2 separate regions of the Homo sapiens genome follow, and region 2 is linked to region 1. The links are contacts of gene promoters, found by promoter capture Hi-C in human tissues and cell types (Jung and others, 2019). All regions are on one chromosome and are shown on one strand. The core of a region is centred on a gene start or on the middle of the fragment in contact, and the rest is flanking DNA. Distances in the headings are between cores, read along the strand shown. Region 1 holds the start of DCAF15 (DDB1 and CUL4 associated factor 15). Region 2 overlaps LINC01841 (long intergenic non-protein coding RNA 1841).

Region 1 (2,885 bases), core at 124-2,623:
GTACATAACTCCTAAAACCCTTGAAATCAGCTGGGCACAGTGGTTTATGCCTGTAATCCCAGCACTTTGGGAGGCCAAGACGGGATGATCCCTTGAGGTCAGGAGTTTTCGAGCAGCCTGGGCAACATAGTGAGACCCCATCTCTACAAAAAAAATTTTTTTAATGAAGACAATAAAAAAAAACTATCTTCTAGATTGTTCAGAGGATTAAATGGGCTGGCCAGGGGTGGGGGCTCACACCTGTCCTCCCAACACTTTGGGAAGCAGAGGTGGGAGGATCACTTGAGCCCAGGTGTTGGAGACCAGCCTGGACAACTTGGTGAAACTCCGTCCCTACAAAAAATACAAAAAATTAGGCCGGGCGCGGTGGCTTATGCCCGTAATTCCAGCACTTTGGGAGGCCTAGGCGGGCGGATCACCTGAGGTCAGGAGTTCGCAACCAGCCTGGCCAACATAGTGAAACCTCGTCTCTACTAAAAATACAAAAAATTAGGCAGGCGTGGTGGCGCACGCCTGTAGTCCTAGCTACATGAGAGGCTGAGGTGAGAGGATCATCTGAGCCCGGGGTCGAGGCTGCAGTGAACCGTGATCACGCCACTGCACTCCAGCCTGGGTGACAAAGTGAGACTCTGTCTAAAAAAATAAAATAAATGAGGTAATGTATACGAATATGATGCACGGAGCGGACCTTCAACAATTATTTTTATTGCTATGATCTGCATAATTGGCACAACAGGGCCCTGCCACATCGAACTGTTTAAGCTCAGAACCGTGTCTGTCACATGTGGAGCGATCCATGATTGATGCTATCATTATCACCACCATCATCCCACCAACCCGCCCATCGGAAACAAGCTTTCATCGAATCCCATCGTTTTTTCCTTTTTTGTAAATCTCTTTCCTCGGCCTGGCTCTGCCGCCCAAGTATGCTCGTCAGGCCTTTGCCCACCTGGACCGGGCGCGGGCAGCCCGGGGCTGAGGATTCTCGAGCCTTGGTGGACCACAGGCTCCCGTCGCCCCGCCCAAGGGCCTGGACCGCCTGTGGTCTCCATGGAAACCCGCCAGCCACAGGGGGCGTGACGCCGTTGAGACAGACAGAGATATTCACCTATCAGATCAAAGTTATCTGGGCAGGGCGAACAAACGGGACCTCCGAGTGGTACGTCCTTAAGGCGGGGCGGGAATACGGCAACGGGCCGCGGGGGCTGTTACTGTCGCTACCAATCAAGAGTCGAGATGGCTTTGATGGACAGGCATAGCGCGAGTGCGGGCTTTCGCCCAACCGGCGGGCCGCTGTCCCGAAAAAGGACCAATGAGGAGGCGGCAGGGGTGGGGCGAAGGGGCCGGTTGCTCCGGAAGTGGAGGGAGGGGGTGAAAATGGCGCCCAGCTCGAAATCGGAGCGGAACAGCGGGGCTGGGAGCGGCGGCGGCGGCCCCGGGGGAGCCGGAGGGAAGCGGGCAGCAGGGCGGCGGCGGGAGCACGTCCTCAAGCAGCTGGAGCGGGTCAAGGTGAGGCCTGGAGCCGGAGTGGGGAGCGCGCCGGAGGGTGGGGAGTAGGGACGAGGGAGGCGGAGGGAGGAGGGCGTTCGCGGGGTGAGGGGTTGGGGGCGGGGCCCCAGGGGAGGGGGCTCGGATGCAGGGCCTGGGCGGGGCCCGGGGGAGATGGCTTGGATGGAGGGGGCTCAGTTGGGGGCCTGGATGCAGGTGGTTGTGTCGGGTGACCGGCAAAGGGGCTGGGATGGAGGGGGTTGGGGGCGGGGCCCCAGGGAGGGGGCTCGGAGGGAGGCGACCCCAGAGGCCGCAGGGAGAATCAGGAGGAAGGGGGCGATCCAGGCTTTTCAAAGCTCTGCTCCCATGGTTGCTCCATAATGGAACCTTCCCGCCCCCTTTGCAGAGCCCCTGCCGCTGGCTTTGGGCTTCCTCCGCCTGATGTTCCTCTCCCTGCCCAAGCCCCGACCACACATGAGCTGGGAGTTCCAGTACCTGGGTGGGCCTCCCCATTGAAAGTGTGGGAGCTCCCTGGATAGGGCTGAGTCTTCCCCCGCAGAGTGAGAGTTACCGAAGCAGGCTCTGTCTCCTCCATCAGACTGGAAACTCCCAGAGCTGGGGGATGATGTCTCTCTCCCCCATCAGTTTGGGAGCTCTGGAGGGCAGAAATGTGGATCTCTTGCAGGTGGGCAGTAACTGGGGCAAGGCTGTGTCTCTGTGGACAGGGACTGCGCCTTCTCCGTGAGGCTGGTAGCTTTGTAAGGGCAGTGCTGTGTCTCCCCCTTTTGACTGGGAGCTCCCTGGGCTGGGACAGTCTCCGCCCTTAGCCTGGGAGCTCCCTGGGCTTGGCTGTGGTTCCGCCCTTAGCTTGGAAGCTCCTTGGGCAGGGACTGTGTCTCCCCTGTCGGCCTGGGCCTGGCTGGCCAGGCTGTTTCCTCCGTCAGACTGAGACCTCCATGTGGACAGGGCTGTCTCCCATCAGACAGGGAGCTTCCCAGACAGGACTCTTCCCATCAGATTGGAATGTCTTGAAGGCAGAGTTGGGTAGCAAGACTGAGGCTGTTCGGATATCCCTGTGCCTGGCTTCTGCCTGTCAGTCCCCGCAGATCCTTCCGCGGTGAAGTTTTGGGGATGAGGGATTCCCTTGGATTCCGTTGGAAGGCGGTAGTTAATTGGGAAGGGGGCGTTGGGTCATTGGTTAGGCTCACCCTTCTATCTGCCTCGACTGGCCCCCAGCAGAGGCCAGAGCTGCCCCGGGGAGGAGGAGCCCCCTTGTTTGAAGGCTGGTGGGTTGGGAACAGATGGGTGCAGGTCAGGACTCTGTCCCAGCCTCCTTAGTAGGATAAATACCCACAGCTTAGGGACAGCCTTCAGGGAGGGAAGCAGGTGGCCCAGCG
Region 2 (2,885 bases), core at 217-2,716, 390 kb after region 1:
GACGGCGTTTCACCATGTTGGCCAACCTGGTCTCGAACTCCTGACCTCAGGTGATCTGCCCGCCTCAGCCTCCCAAAGTGCTGGGATTACAGGCGTGAGCCACCGTGCCCAGCCTATTCTTTATAGTTCTCCACCTATTTGACTGATTATATCCCTGACATAAATTCCTAGAGGTGGATTTGCTGGGTCAGAGAATCCACATGCTTAAAGGTTTAATACTAATATCTAGAACACCATCCCAAGAAAGTTGTATCGTGGCCGGGTGCGGTGGCTGACATCTGTAATCCTAGCACTTTGGGTGGCCGAGGAGGGAGGATCACTTGAGATCAGGAGTTTGAGACCAGCCTGGGCAAGTCGTGAGACCCCATGTTACAAAAAGTTTTTAAAAAATTAGCTGGGTGTGGTGACCTGTACCTGTAGTCAGCTATTTGGCAGGCTGAGGTGGGAGGATTCCTTAAGCCTAGGAGGTTGAGGCTGCAGTGAGCCGTGATTGTGCCACTGCACTCCAGCATGGGTGACATAGTGAGACCCTGTCTCAAAAAATTAAAAAAAAAAAAGTTGTGTCAATTTAAACTCCCATGACCGTGCTCAAGTGTGCATTCCCAAAACTTCACACACACTCATAAGCTTGACAAGGAAAAGTGATTCTTCAGCTGAACGGTCAGATTGAGCATCTTTACAGAGGTTTGTTAAGCTCTCACTCCTTTGTGAACCCCCTATTCAAGCCCTGTGCCAATTTCACATTTGGGATGTTTGTCTTTTTTTTCTTATTGATTCATATGTGCTTTTTGTATATTAAGGCTCTTAATGATTTGTCTGCCATATACGTGGCAAACAATCTAATCTCCCTTGATCTTTTCTTTTCCTTTTTTTTCTTGAGATAGAGCCTCACTCCGTTGCCCAGGCTGGAATGCAGTGGCACCATAATAGCTCACCGCAATCACTGCAGCATCAACCTCCTGGGCTCAAGCCATCCTCCTGCCTCAGCCTCCTGAGTAGCTGGGACCACAGGTGTGTGCCACCATGCCCAGATAAATTTTTAAAAATTATTTTTGTAGGGATGGGGTCTCACTATGTTGCCCAGGCTGGCTATCTCCTCTGATCTGGGACTCCAGCTAGATCTCCTTTTATTGCCCAACTGGCCTCAATGAACATTTCTCTTCTGTCTAGGCCTCATTGCAGGTTGCATTTTATTGGCGGTTCCTCCAGAAACAAAAGCAGAGACTTTGAGATCTTATGAACCTCAGTCTTACCCAGAACACTTGAAGAACCCTTCAGCTTTCCATGGCAAGAAAGCTCAGGCCCTGGGGCCAGAAGCCACGGCTTTGTGTCTGGGTTCTGTAGTTTACTGCTATGGCTCCAGTTTCTGATTCCTCCAAGTTAAGATGGGTTGGTAAATTCTGCCACGCAGAATGCGCTTCTAGCCACGCCCACTGTGTATCAAACCATGCCCACTGTACATAAACCACGCCCTCTCATCTAGCTACGCCCACCAATCGTCTAGCCACGCCCACCTTCGAGTGGAGAGGTGTGATTAGAGCATTAAAGAGAGAGGCGTGATTAGAGCATTAAAAAGAAGTGAAGAACCGAAATAGTGAGGATCCTGGGCCAGGGGGAGGAGGAGGGAGAAGATCCCCTGGCCTCGATGGCTGGCAATTCCTTCATGCCCCTAGCACCCACCTGGTTAAAGAAAGGATAGCTGGGCGCAATGACTCACTCCTGTAATCCCAGCACTTTGGGAGGCCGAGGCAGGCAAATCTTGAACTTGAGGCCAGGAGTTCAAGACCAGCCTGATCAACATGGCAAAACCCCATCTCTACTAAAAATACAAAAATCAGCCGGTGTGGTCGTGTATGCCTGTAATCCCAGCTACTCAAGAGGCTGAGGCACGAGAATCGCTTGAACTCAGCAGGCGAAGGTTGCAGTGAGCCGAGATCACACCACTTCACTCCAGCCTGGGCAACAAAGCAAGACTGTCTCAAAAAAAAAAAAAAAAAAAGAAAAGAAAAGAAAAGAAAAAAGAAAAAGAAAATAAAAAAAAGAAAGAAGGAGGCACCTGGCTACTGTATTCCACCTTTCTCCTCACCCACTCTTTTTTTTTTTTTTTTTTTTGAGACGGAGTCCTTCTCTGTCATCCAGGCTGGAGTACAGTGGCACCATCTCGGCTCACTGCAACCTCCGCCTCCTGAGTTCAAGCTATTCTCCTGCCTCAGCCTCCCAAGTAGCTGGGACTACAAACACGCACCACTACCTCCGGCTAATTTTTGTATTTTTAGTAGAGATGGGGTTTTGCCATGTTTTTCAGGCTAGTCTTGAACTCCTGACCTCAAGTGGTCCGCCCGCCTCAGCCTCCCAAAGTGCTGGGATTACAGGTGTGAGCCACCACGCCCGGCCCTCACCCGCTCTTTAAAATATCCCTACCAGGGTCAATGGTTTATCTGTGCCTCAGTGTTCCCATCTGTAAAATGAGGATAATTTTAAGGATTACCTGAGTTAGCATCTGTGAAGGGGTTAGAATGGTACCTGGCACATAGTAGGCACTCAATAAATGGCATCACTGATATGGTTCCACGGATGGTTGTATTATTAATAGGAATAAAGTGTGGGATGGAAAAACGTTGCTCTGGGCACCTGGAACCAGCCCCAGGGGCACGTGGGGCTCTACACAGGCTCTTTACCCCATGCCAGCGGGAGGACACTTTGGGGGGAAACTGAGGCACTGACAATCCCCTGCCTTCCCAGCCCTGAGTCCTTCTCACCCATGCCCAGAGCCTCAGAGGCCAGCAAGGTGCCCCAAGGGAAAGCGACACTTCTGAACTGCGCTGCCTGGCACAATTACCGTTTTCATCCTCATTAAACTACATTTTCATTCTAATTAGAGTTTC

Evidence for each region. The method cuts DNA at HindIII sites, captures the fragments that hold promoters and counts their contacts. A contact is called where the count stands out against the background at its distance.
Region 2: a contact is called between a fragment that was not itself captured here and the fragment with the promoter of DCAF15 in region 1, in 3 of the 25 tissues and cell types used here (dorsolateral prefrontal cortex, lymphoblastoid cells and spleen).

The regions. Positions count from the first base shown.
Region 1 is chr19:13,951,136-13,954,020 of GRCh38, forward strand. DCAF15 (DDB1 and CUL4 associated factor 15) reads left to right here and starts at 1,374. Exons shown (of 13, transcript NM_138353.4): 1 at 1,374-1,509. The coding sequence starts at 1,378. It also overlaps a transcript of PODNL1 not described here. RefSeq lists an enhancer at 747-796 and a silencer at 1,457-1,596. The HindIII fragment of the contact is 40,615 bases long and covers 1-2,885 here.
Region 2 is chr19:14,336,204-14,339,088 of GRCh38, forward strand. All of the region lies in intron 1 of LINC01841 (long intergenic non-protein coding RNA 1841), which reads right to left. The region is part of intron 1 of LINC01842 (long intergenic non-protein coding RNA 1842); the gene reads left to right. Among named protein-coding and RNA genes, the nearest start is that of LINC01842, 3.9 kb to the left of the region's middle. RefSeq lists a silencer at 1,380-1,580 and enhancers at 2,277-2,777, 2,778-2,885. The HindIII fragment of the contact is 5,959 bases long and covers 1-2,885 here.